3 separate regions of the Homo sapiens genome follow, and regions 1 and 3 are each linked to region 2. Evidence: promoter capture Hi-C in 16 types of primary human blood cells and fetal thymus (Javierre and others, 2016). All regions are on one chromosome and are shown on one strand. The core of a region is centred on a gene start or on the middle of the fragment in contact, and the rest is flanking DNA. Distances in the headings are between cores, read along the strand shown. Region 1 overlaps MAPT-AS1 (MAPT antisense RNA 1). Region 2 holds the start of FMNL1 (formin like 1). Region 3 has its middle 3.6 kb from the start of SPPL2C.

Evidence for each region. The method cuts DNA at HindIII sites, captures the fragments that hold promoters and counts their contacts. A CHiCAGO score of 5 or more calls a contact.
Region 1: a fragment that was not itself captured here is called in contact with the fragment with the promoter of FMNL1 in region 2 in 1 of 17 cell types (endothelial precursors); the score reaches 6.1 in endothelial precursors.
Region 3: a contact is called between a fragment that was not itself captured here and the fragment with the promoter of FMNL1 in region 2, in 1 of 17 cell types (endothelial precursors). The highest score is 6.0, in endothelial precursors.

Annotation. Positions count from the first base shown.
Region 1 is chr17:45,854,666-45,858,609 of GRCh38, reverse strand. The region is part of intron 1 of MAPT-AS1 (MAPT antisense RNA 1); the gene reads left to right. Among named protein-coding and RNA genes, the nearest start is that of SPPL2C, 12 kb to the right of the region's middle. The HindIII fragment of the contact is 2,028 bases long and covers 818-2,845 here.
Region 2 is chr17:45,219,334-45,223,308 of GRCh38, reverse strand. FMNL1 (formin like 1) reads right to left here and starts at 1,424. Exons shown (of 27, transcript NM_005892.4): 1 at 1,056-1,424. The coding sequence starts at 1,184. It overlaps FMNL1-DT (FMNL1 divergent transcript), which reads left to right and starts at 1,544. Exons shown (of 3, transcript NR_147507.1): 1 at 1,544-1,960; 2 at 2,855-3,041. RefSeq lists enhancers at 1-385, 386-886 and silencers at 733-1,027, 950-1,059, 1,340-1,389, 1,400-1,849. The HindIII fragment of the contact is 10,145 bases long and covers 1-3,975 here.
Region 3 is chr17:45,839,147-45,843,316 of GRCh38, reverse strand. No RefSeq gene overlaps it. Among named protein-coding and RNA genes, the nearest start is that of SPPL2C, 3.6 kb to the left of the region's middle. RefSeq lists a silencer at 2,660-2,869. The HindIII fragment of the contact is 2,429 bases long and covers 1,474-3,902 here.

The DNA.
Region 1 (3,944 bases), core at 582-3,081, 630 kb before region 2:
AATGTGGCTGCATAGACACCGTTGCCTGTTGTTGGTGACCCCTGGGCTGAGAGGCAATGACGTGGAGTTGGGGGCCAGTGGCATGACGAGACAAGGGCAAAATGGGTGAGCAGAGGCAGCCAGCCCAGGGAGGGGAGAAGAGGAAGTGGAGGCCCAGAGATTATGAAGCTCGGCGAGGCAGAAAGCTTTCTAATTCCCAGTTCCCATGAGCCCTGACTGGGCTGTTTGCCCTTCTGTTCTGAGAAATTCCTGTGTCCCTTCAAATATGCTTCTCTTTTGGCTTAAGCTACTTTGAGCAGTTTCTTATTCTTCAAAGCCGAAAGAGTCTTAAAGAGAATGCATCCATGACCCTCTCCCGCCACTCTCACATCTTGTTTATGTTCATCTCCAGGACCTTGGACAGGGCCCAGCACAGGGGCCCTGGAATGTGGACTGTCTCAGTGGATTCTTGTTTATAGGAATTAGAGGAAGGTGGAAGAAGCTCATTCCAGGTGAGCAGAGGCACGGAGCAAGGGTGAGCGTGTGAGAAGAGCCATGTGAACAGGATGTATAGGGGCCAGTGGAGGGAAGGCCAGTCAGGAGGGAAGGCTGGATGCAGATGGCCTTAAACACCAGGCTGAGGAGTTGGGGTTGGTTTGACAAATGGTAGGGAGGTATCAGAAGTCCTGCAGCTGGATGGACATGACAAAGAACAGTTGTGCCCTTTTCTTTAACAAGGATTCAGATGGCCTGGGTGACAGATGACATCTTGGGACTGAAATGAACAAATAATAAACCTATGCATGGAACTCTTACAAGAAAACATCAGGCAAAAGCTTACCAACATCGAATTTGGCAATGATTTCTTAGATATGACACCAAAGGCACAGACAACAGACTTCATAAAAAAGAAAAACTAGACTTCATAAAAGTTAAAAAAATTTTGTTAATCCTAAGACACTATCAACAGAGTAAAAAGGCAACCCACAGTATGGAGGAAAATATTTGCAAATTATATATCTGATAAAGGATTAATATTTAGAATATATAGAGAACTTCTAAAACTCAACAACTAAAAGACAAACAACCTGATTCAAAAAAGGACAAAGGTTTTGAAAATACATTTCTCCATTTAAAAAGACAAATGGCCAATAAGCACATGGAAAAATGAGCATTAGAAAAATGCCAATCAAAACTATAATGAGATATTACCTCATATCTATTAAGAAGACTGCTATTAAAAAAAAAAAACAAAAAAACAATACAAAAAAACCCCAGAAAATTGGCTGGACATGGTGGCTTATGCCTATAATCCCAGCAGTTTTGGAGGCTGAGGGAGATGGATCACCTGAGGTCAGGAGTTTGAGACCAGCCTGGCCAACATGGTGAAACCTTGTCTCTACTAAAAACACAAAAATTAGCCAGGCGTGGTGGTGCACACCTGTAACCACAACTACTTGGGAGGCTGAGGCAGGAGAATGGCTTGGACCCAGGAGGTGGAAGTTGCATGAGCCGAGATCGTGCCACTGTACTCTAACCTGGGCGACAAGAGCGAAACTCTGTCTCAAAACAAACAAACAAACAAACAACAACAACAAAAACCCAAAACCAGAAAATAGGTATTGATGAAGATGTAGAGAAATTGGAACACATGTGCACTATTGGTGGGAATGTAAAATGCTATAGTCTCTATGGAAACAGTATGGCAATCTCTTAAAAAATTAAACAGAGGCTGGGCACCGTGGCTTACACCTGTAATCCCAGCACTTTGAGAGGCTGAGGCAGGAGGATCGATTGAGCTCAGGAGCTCACAACCAGCCTGAGCAACATAGTGAGACCGCATCTCCACTAAAAAAAAAAAAAAAAAAAATTAGCCATGCATAGTGGTGTGCACCTGTAGTTCCAGCTACTTGGGGGACTGAAGTGGGAGGATTGCTTGAGCCCAGGAAGTCAAGGCTACAGTGAGCAGTGATCGTGCCACTGCACTCCAGCCTGGATTACTGAGCAAGACCCTGTCTCAAACAAACAAACAAACAAACACCATAAAGCCAGGGGCTCATGCCTGTAATCCCCGCTACTTGGGAGGTTGAGGGAGGATTGCTTGAGCCCAGGAGTTCGAGACCACCCTGAGCAATGCAGCAAGACCCCATTCCCAATAAATACATACATACATACATACATACATAAATAAATACATACATACATACATAAACAAAAAATTGAACATAGAATTACCATGTGATTCAGAAATTGCACTTCTGGGTATATAACCCAAAGAACTAAAAACAGGGCCTCAGAGATATTGAAAGTAATGGCAAAAACCACAATAAATTTTGCACTATCTAATATTTGCACACCAATGTTTATAGTAACCCAAGTTTCCACCAACAGAGGAATGAATGGCTAGGCAAAATGTGGTGCATACACACAGTGAATGTTACTCATCCTTAAAAAGGAAAGGAATCCTGCAGTATGCTGCCACATGGATGAGCCTTAAGGCCATTATGCTAAATGAAATGAGTCAGTCACAAAAAGACAAATTCTGTGTGATTCCACTTATATGAGGCACTTAGGGTAGTCAAAATCATAGAGACAGGAAGTAGAATGGTGGTTGCCAGAGGCTGGGGAGGAAGGCATGAGAGTTATTGTTTGTGGGTATGGAATTTCGTTTGACAAGATGAAGAGTTCTAGAAATGGATGGTGGTGCTAGTTGCACAACATTGTAAGTGTATTCAATAATATTGCTGAGCTGTACACTTTGATAAATTTTGTTATGTGTATTTTACCACAATTAAAAAAATAAAAACAAAACCAAACCCTTATGCGTGGGGAAAACAAATGACTGGATGGAAATAAAACAAAAGCTTATAGTAATGTGGATTTTTTTTTCTACTTTCCTGTGCTTTCCAATTTTCCTCTAGAGTGCAATCAATAACAGTGGAAAGAAGTCCCTGGAGCCCAGTGCAGTGGCTTGAACTGAGAATGCACTCACTGGCTGTTGCAGCCAAGACTCCAGTTCTCGCCTCTCTTTCCCTGACTCCCCTGTGCCCACCTTTCCCCTGCAGGAAAGTATACCCGGCGGGCCAGGGGGCTTTTGTGGTTGGGTTATGTCTTCATCTTGTCTGCTCTGTGAGCCATTTACTTCTCAGGCACAGCTCTGGGCGCAAGGGCAGCCTGTGCCACAGATGTCTGTTGAACCCTGGATTCGCGTCTGTGGCTGCTGTATAGATGATCACACGCCTGATGGCTTCAAACGACAGAAATATACCCTCTCACGGCTCTGGGGGCCAGAAGTCTGGAATCAGGATCATTGGGCTGAAATCAAGGGGTCAGGGCTGTGTTCCCTCTGGAAGCTCTAGGGGGAATTCATTCCTTACCCCTTCCAGCTCGTGCTGGCTGCTGGCAGTCCTTGGCTTGTGGCCACATCACTCCAATCTGTCTCCATCACCACATTGCCTTCTCCACTTCCATGTGTGTAATCCTGCTGTCTCCTCTGTCTCTCTCTCTAGCTCTTTTTTTTTTTTTTTTTGAGACAGAGCTTCGCTCTGTTGCCCAGGCTGGAGTGCAGTGGCGCAATCTCGGCTCGCTGCAACCTCCACCTCCCGGGTTCAAGCAGTTCTCCTACCTCAGCCTCCCAAGCAGCTGGGATTACAGGCACCCACCACCATGCTCGGTTAATTTTTGTATTTTTAGTAGAGACAGGGTTACACCATGTTGTCCAAGCTGGTCTCGAACTCCTGACCTCAGGTGATCCACTTGCCTCGGCTTTCCAAAGTGCTGGGATTACAAGCATAAGCCACTGCACCCAGTCCTCTCTCTCTCTTTTTTTTTTTTATTGAGATGGAGTCTCACTCCGTCACCAAGGCCGGAGTGCGGTGGTGCAATCTCCCCTCACTGCAACCTCCGCCTCTGGGATTCAAGCTTTCTCTCCTGCCTCAGCCTCCCAAGTAGCTGGGATTACAGAC
Region 2 (3,975 bases), core at 175-2,674:
AGCCAGAACCCTCTGCGGCCTGTGTCTCCGTTGAGCCCCCACCCTCAGACCTGCAGGGACTGGGAAATGCATCTGGGAGAAGGCACAGCCTCATTTTGCCTGTCACCCAGCGTCCAGCAAGGGAAGGCTGACAGCAGGCAGGCCACCAGGCAATTAGTTAGAGGAGGGAGCCAGGGCCAGGGCGTCGGGGGTGGGGAGAGTGAGAGTGAGCAGCTCTTCCTCTCCCTACTTCTGCCTTATGCAGGGTCTTGGAGACCCCTGAGTCTGCTCTGGAGCCCCCACCCCACTGAACATGTTGACTGTTTCCAGGCTCGGCCTGAGCTGCTGGTTCCCTCCCAGAGACCTATTCCCCAGCGACCCCGCTCCAATTCCCCAGGTAGGCACAGAGGGGGGTGGTTCCAGATTTTGCTCCACCCCTAGCCTGGGCGACCCACCCGTCCTGACCCCACCCTCCCTCATCTTACTCCCTTCAGTGGCTTGGAAAGGATGCCCCAAGATAAAGACCCACAGGCACCCTGGCTCTGACATATGGCGGGGTAGAAACACAGATACCTCCTGGCCATGATCCGACAACCCCATTCCCCGCAGCCCAGGCGCCCAACAAATCAGGACCCAACACCTCCAGCAGGTCTCCCGCTCCCGGGAGGTTGTAACCCTTTCATCTTTGACTCCAGACACAGAAAGGCAGATGCCCCAGACCCGCGCCCGGTGGCTGGGCCTGCGTGCAGTGGGGAAGGGGGCGACCCGGGACCCCTGTGCGTGCCCCGCTCCCAACTTCTTCACAGGACATACTTGTTTAGACCTTAAGACCCAGCTGGGGTGGAGGCGTCTTAGGGAGGGAGACCGGGCGATAACTGAAGAAAGTTTTGGGGGGAGAGTGCTAAGTCACTCTGAAAAAAAGGCCACTGTCGCTCCCACCTCCTGGAGGGGGCAGCTGCCGGACCGGGGATCTCCAAGCGGCACCTGAGTCCCCGGGGGCGGGGACGCGCGCCCAGCCCCTGCCGCGCCCCTGCCGCCCCCCGCCCGCGCCCGACCCGCCTCCGGGTCGCACTCACCAGGGCGCGGTTGAACCTCTCCTCCAGCTCTCCGGCCGCGGGCATCGGCTGCTTGGGAGGCGCGGGCTGCTTGGGGGGCGGCGCGGCGGGGCCCGCGGGCTGCTCGGCGCTGCCGGCCGCGTTGCCCATGGTGGTCCCCACCCAGCCGGCCAGGCGCCTCCAGCCTCGGAAATCCAGCTTTCCGGGGGACGGGGACGAGGCTCCCGGCCCGGGCGGGGGCGAGGGGGCAGCGGCTGGCGGTGGCGGCGGGGGTCTCGGCAGCGGGGGGCGCTCGGCTCAGCGGCGCGCAGGGGCCGGAGCGCGGCGTCCCATCGGGGCGGCCCCGTCCGTGGGACCGGGCGGCGAGCTGCAGGGTTGGGGGAGGAAGTCAGGCTGCAGGCCGCCGGGGCCAGAGGGCTGGGCCGGGGGCAGGAAGCTGCGGCGCTGGCTCCCCCCTCGGCGATTTTCGAACTTCTGCTGTCGCTCCCCGTGCGCGCAAACCGCAGTTCGCCGCCGCCGCCGCCGGGCACCCAGCCCCAGGGGGGCGGGCTGGAGGGAGGGGGCGGGCGCTGGCCGGGGGACCCCCGCAACCATGGCGGGCGGGGAGTGGGCTGCCGAGCCGCTTCACCTGCCGCAGAGGGGGCGGCCGGCGCCGCTTCACCTGCCGGAGCGGGAGGCCACCGAGGCGAGGCCGAGGCGGCGGCGCGCTCGGCGGCGCCTCCGGGTCCTAGAACCGCATCCTCCCGCTCGCCTCGGGCGAGGGATTGGCCGGGTCTGGGTGAAGGGGATCACGGCCTGGGGATTGGAGGGGCACATCTTCTCCGCACCGAGGATCTCAGCGACTGCGAGCACGGCTCGGAGACCCACGGTGGTGCAGCGTTGGGGCGCCAGGGCTGCGTTCCCGTCTCGCGTCCCGGACTGAGAAGGTGGGAACCCCCTTCCAGGCCCCCCACCTTTTATTTCTCTCCTCCCCTGCTTAGCCCAGAGACGAGCTGAGGACGAGGGGGAGCCATCTCCAAACAGGAACTCCTAAACAGGGTGGGGGGCGCGGACGCAGGCCAGTGGAGACCCCCGCCACCTGTCCCACCTCGACCAACCGTGCGCCTGTGCAGGGCACCCCTACAGGTTTTAGAATGGGGGCACCTATGGAATATGGCAGGCTGCGAGAAGCTGGGCCCGCCAAGGTGGTCCCAAGGAGGAGTGGGGGGTTGCGGAAAGGAGGATGAGAGCCAGCCACAAGGCTGGAAAAGGAGTGGGCACCGCAGAGGAGGGAAAAAGAATCTTGACACTGTCACCGCCAGGGATCTAGGGGGGCCTCTTACCTTGGAGAATAACAATCTCTGATGTCTGCTAATTACAGAAATACTTTCAGAGCTCTTTCATTCATCCTGACAATGGCCAGAGAAGGTAGGTATTGGTAGCCTTATTTTAGAGATGGGGAAACTGAGGCTGAGAGTAGGTAAGTAAGCTGTCCAAGGGCACTCAGCTAACAAAGGACAGAAGCAAGCCTCCTCACTGTCTACCTCCAAAACCTACACTGGCTTGGAGTTGCTGTCCTGGCCCTCCACTGCCCATCTCATGTAGGACGGGAGAGTATGGGGGGCTGGGGTCCCATCTATAGCCTGAATTTGAGACTTTCAGTTGCTCCTCTCATTCCCCATTTAATTTGTGGGGATCCCCAACTGACCCCTCCCTACACTTCCAGGGCACTGAGGAGGGAGGGCCCGCTGAAGGAGCCCCGAATTATCTCTAGGCCAGGTCAGGAGCCATTAGTGTCCCCTCCCCTGACAGCATCCTCCTCCTTCTGCCCTCACATTCAGAGCCACTGACAAGACTTTAAGCAAGAGACGGAGAGTTAACATCTAATCTGGAGGAAGACCCTGGAAGGAGCCAGCCCCTTCCCCCAGGCTGACCTGGTTTAAGCCTTTCTTCTGCCAAGGTCACCAGCACCCCAGATGGGTGAGAGATGTGATCACTGGTTTCGTGGCCTGACCAAGGACCTCCAAGGTGAGTCAAAGCAGAATTCTCCTTGGGCATGCAGGGAAAATGATCCATTCCCTGCACACTGCCATATTCTCCTTCTCAGACAGACCAGAGCCTTGCCCTTGGGTCCTTGCCCTTGAGATTAGCTAGGACCTCCTCCTCTTCTTCTCCTTCTTTCTTCTTCTTCTTGTCTCTATAAGATAACTGTCGTGGAAGACTTTTTTTTTTCTTTTAAGATGGAGTCTCTCGCTGTTGCCCAGGCTGGAGTGCAGTGGCTCGGTCTCAGCTCACTGCAACCTCCACCTCCCAGGTCCAAGCAATTATCCAGTCTCAGCCTCCTCAGTAGCTGGGACCACAGGTGCGTGCCACCACACCCAGCTCATTTTTGTATTTTTAGTAGAGACGGGGTTTTGCTATGTTGACCAAGCTGGTCTCGAACTCCTGACCTCAAGTGATCCGCCTGCCTCGGCCTCCCAAAGTGCTGGGATTACAGGCATGAGGCACCCCGTCCAGCCTGGAAGACTTTTTTTTTTAATGAATAAAAACACATTTTTTTAAAGAATGGATTCCCTGATTCCTCAATGGCTGTCTCTTTCAATTGAACAATAAACCTTTACTTAGCATCAGCTACATGCCCATCACTGTGCTTGGTCCTGCAGATTCTGTGGCAGATGAGAAATGCCTTGGTCCTTGGGCTGCTTGCAGCCTAGCGAGGGACAGACTTTTAACCTCTCTAGGAGAGTGGCTGCTTCAAGTCATCCTATGGGACCAGCTGTTCATGCTTCCTCTTGCCCAGAACTACTTCTGTGAGAGGAAAAGAGAAGGGTAGGAGCGTGCCCTGCAGCTGGAAACCCAAGCCAGGCGGGGAGCCACGAATGCAGTAGTTATCAGACTGTATCTTCAATCCTGGGGGCTTCTCAAGCCATTGCCAGCCACTCTTCACCCAAGGCCTGGTGGA
Region 3 (4,170 bases), core at 1,439-3,938, 620 kb before region 2:
CTTCCAAATAAGGTCGCATTAACAGGTACTGGGGTTTAGGACTTCAACATGCCTATTTGGGGGCACAATTGTGGGCAGCCCCACAACACACATGTAATTTTAACCTCTAAGGAGTAAGCATGCTGATTTTTTTTTTTTTTTTTTTTTGAGACAGGGTCTTGCTCTGTTGCTCGGCTGGAGTGCAGTGGCACGATCTCAGCTCACTGCAAACTCCACCTCCTGGTTTCAAGCAATTCTCCCCCGACCCAGCCTCCCGAGTAGCTGGGATTACAGGTGTGTGCCACCATGCCCAGCTAATTTTTGTGATTTTAGTACAGATGGTGTCTCACCATTTTGCCCAGGCTGGTCTCGAACTCCTGGCCTTAAGTGAATCGCCCACCTCAGCCTCCCGAGGTGCTGAGATTACAGGCACAAGCCACTGTGCCTGGCCAATCACTGATCTTTCTCAAGGACTCTCCTTCTTTTCTCTTTGAGATGGAGTCTCACTCTGTCCCCTAGGCAGGCTGGAGTGCAGTGGCACAATCTTGGCTCACTGCAACCTCCACCTCCCAAGTTCAAGCGATTCTCCTGCCTCAGCCTCCCAAGTAGCTGAGATTATAGGCGCCCACCACCATACCTGGCTAATTTTTGTATTTTTAGTAGACATGGGGTTTCACCATGTTAGCCAGGCTGGTCTCAAACTCCTGGCCTCAGGTGATCCAGCCACCTTGGTCCCCCAAAGTGCTGGGATTACAGGCGTGAGCCACCGTGCCTGTCAAGGCCTCTCCTTCTATTACGGGTCCATCTCTTGCAGTCCCAAACTGCTTTCCTTGGGAAATCCACAGGGATGAAACATCATCTCCAACATCAGCTGTGGATTCTTTGAAGTGGAGGGTGAGTTTAAAGGGCCATGTGAAGTGGTCAGCAAGTGGAACCCATCTGAGATTCTGACAATTCTCTCTCACCCAGTTATTTACACTCATCTCACCCACACCTAATTTGCCAATATTTTTGGTGACTCATTTGTAAAGTATCCTTCAAAGCATTAGACTGAATTTTCATAAGAAACATCTCTCCTTGTTAGTGCACTTCTGATTCATCAGTAATATAACATTTAGTTAGATTACGACAGTAATTACAATGACAAGTGAACTGTCAGAAACATGTTCAGGAACAAATACAAGTGACTGGCAAACAAACCACCAGCCGGTGTGAGGAGAAGCAGGCAGAGCCCAGGGGAGGAGGCTGCCAGCTGTCCCTTCCGAGTGCTCCCATTTCAAAGGGGAGGTTGGCAGGAGGGTGGTTAGGAGAGGGAGGCTCGCCTGTAGGCCACAGGAGGGCTGTGACAGTAAAACCCTTTCTGGCCCCCCAGCAACGAATGGGCAACCTAGACCCTCACTCCAGGCCCTGTTCTCCACGCAGGGAGTCGTGGATCTTTTAAAAAACAAGAACCAGCACACCCACTTTGTCACAAAACCCAGACAATCACAAGCTTTGTCGAGGATATAGGGAAGTTGGGACCCTCATACACTGCTGGTGGGAATGGAAAATTGTGCAGCCGCTGCAGGAAACAGCTTGGTGGTTCCTAGATAAGTTAAGCAGAGTTATCATATGACCCAGCACTTATACTCCCAGCTATATATCCCAAAGAATTGAAATCAGGCCTTCAAACAAAAGCGTGTACATGCATGCTCATAGCAGGACTATTCATGATAACTTGGAATAGGTGGAGAGAACCCATATGTCCATCCACTGATGAATGGAGAAACTGCGGTCTCTCCACACAAGGGAATAGCATTCAGCCATAAGAAGGAATGACGTTTTGATACCTGCTACCATGTGGATGGACCTTGAAAACATTATGCTAAGCCGAAACACATTATGCTAAGTGGAAACACATTATGCTAAATGAAGACGCCAGACACAAAAGGACACATATTGTACGATTAATTCCACTTACGTGAAACAGCCAAAACAGGCAGATCTACAGAGGCAGAGAGCAGATTCGTGGCGGGCAGGGGCTGGGGGAGGGGAGAATGAGGAGTGACTGGTGGGTATGGGATTTCCATCTGGGGTGATGAAGAAGTTCCAGAACTTTTTCTATCTCAGTGGTTTCAGTTGCACGACATTGTGTATTTAAAGTCACTGAATTGTGCACTAACATGGTTGAAATGGGACTTTTTTTTGAGATGGAATTTCGCTCTTGTCCCTCAGGCTGGAGTGCAGTGGTACAATCTCAGCTCACTGCAACCTCCACCTCCCGGGTTCAAGTGATTCTCCTGCCTTAGCCTCCCGAGTAGCTGGGATTACAGGCATGCACCACCACCATGCCCAGCTAATTTTCGTATTTTTAGGAGAGACAGGGTTTCACCATGTTGGCCAGGCTGGTCTCGAACTCCTGGCCTCAAGTGATTCACCCACCTTGGCCTCCCAAAGTGCTGGGATTACAGGTGTGAGCCACAGCGCCCAGACGAAATGGAGCAACTCCAGTCCCCTCCAGCTGCTCTCTCCTCAGGACAGGTCTCATTTTAGTTCTTCTGGACTCCATCACACCAGCACATGCCCCAATTTGGGGGTCTGCACAGACACCTCAAGCAGAGCTTGCTCCTGCCCCTTCTCCCAGATCTACCCGTGGACTGGTTGCCCAGGGCCCAGATAATTCGCAGAAGGCTCATTCCCTCCGAGACTCTGCCTGGGACCCCACTCACAGAAGGCTTTCGTGGGTATGTTTGATCATTGCTTCCCCAGGTCCCCCATCCCTGTGCCCACCCCCATCCATCAGCCCTGGAATCATTCCTCTGGTGGCCACTCAGAGCACTGGTCAGTGCCCTCACATGAGTGGCTGATGCCCCTTGGGGCCATGGCCCACTGCCAGGCTGAAATCCCGCTCCAAGACTTCAGTCCCGCCACCCTCCCCACCCCCACTCCAGATTCAACTCCTTTCCTGGAGGGCACCCCCTGTATCTGTGACTTTGCTCCCCACAACTCCCCCTCCCTCCCCCCACCCTACTGCCCCCTCAGCTATGGCCTGGGCTCTCGGGGTGGCTGCCCAGAGCAGGCTGGGGTAGTGTCTCTGCCTTCTACTTGAGGACCTAGGTGCACCTGGAACATTTATCTTCAACACACAGGGCAGCAGGGCCAGCAGGCCCCAGGCAGCAGGTCTCAGGAAGGGTGGGGAAGGGGCCTAGTTCACCTGGCCCCTCACCTGCCCTTGCTGCCCTGCCCAGCAGCTTCCCCGCTGCATGTTCTAGAGTGGATTGCCATCCACTCCCTCCCCCTTCCCCTGTGATGAGGATGAGCCAGGCAGGCCCACCAGCTGCTGCCCCCATGCCCCCTCACCCTAGCTGATGCCTGCCGTGCCCCCAACCTGGGCTCCTTAGGCACCTAAGAGGCCACCACCCCTTCTTCTGCTCCACCTGCCTTGGCCCAATGGGCAATGAGGCTGGGCAGCAGGGATCAGTCAAGGACCCCTTGGAGGGACAGAAGCCGGTAGGGCTGCTATCTGGCAGCCAAGGGTGGTCTCTGGCCTTATCTCCAAATAATAGTCTCATTGGTGTTCCCAAGCCACTGAGAGCTTTGATAAATATATATGGCCCAGGCCTCTCTTGAGCCTGGTCTGCCAGCAGGACCTGCAGGTGTTGGTGAGCTGAGGGCAGGGGTGGGAGGTGATGCTCTGAGGTAGAGCTGGGATGGGGCTGGGGACGGGAGACTGGCAGGTGGAGCTGGCTTGGAGGCCAGATTTGGGGAGTGGGCTGCCCGAGGCCCACGCTCCGCAGGCTCCAATTCCTTCAGCTAGCTCATCTCTGAATGCTGTTTGACCACAGACTGGGGATGGAAGGATTTCCCTGGGGAGGGGATTGGAAGGGGCAGTGGGGCTGGGAGGACAGCCTTACTAAGAACTCCCACTGCATAGGGGTTAAGCTTCACGGATGCCTAGTGTGGCCTCCCTGGCTTTTCATCCATCCGTGGGTGCCATCAGGCAGGTATCTTAACCTCTCTGGGTTTTATTTGCCTTATCTGTTAAATGGGGATAACAGCCCCGCCTCATAGGGCAGTATAAAGAGTCAATGAGATAAACATGTGAGGGGCTAAGCAGCACCTGATGCCCGGTAAACAATCAATAATGATCAGTGTTGCTGTTAGCAAATTGTAGAAAGCATTCTCCTCGGTTTGAAGCAAGTGTGGGCAGCT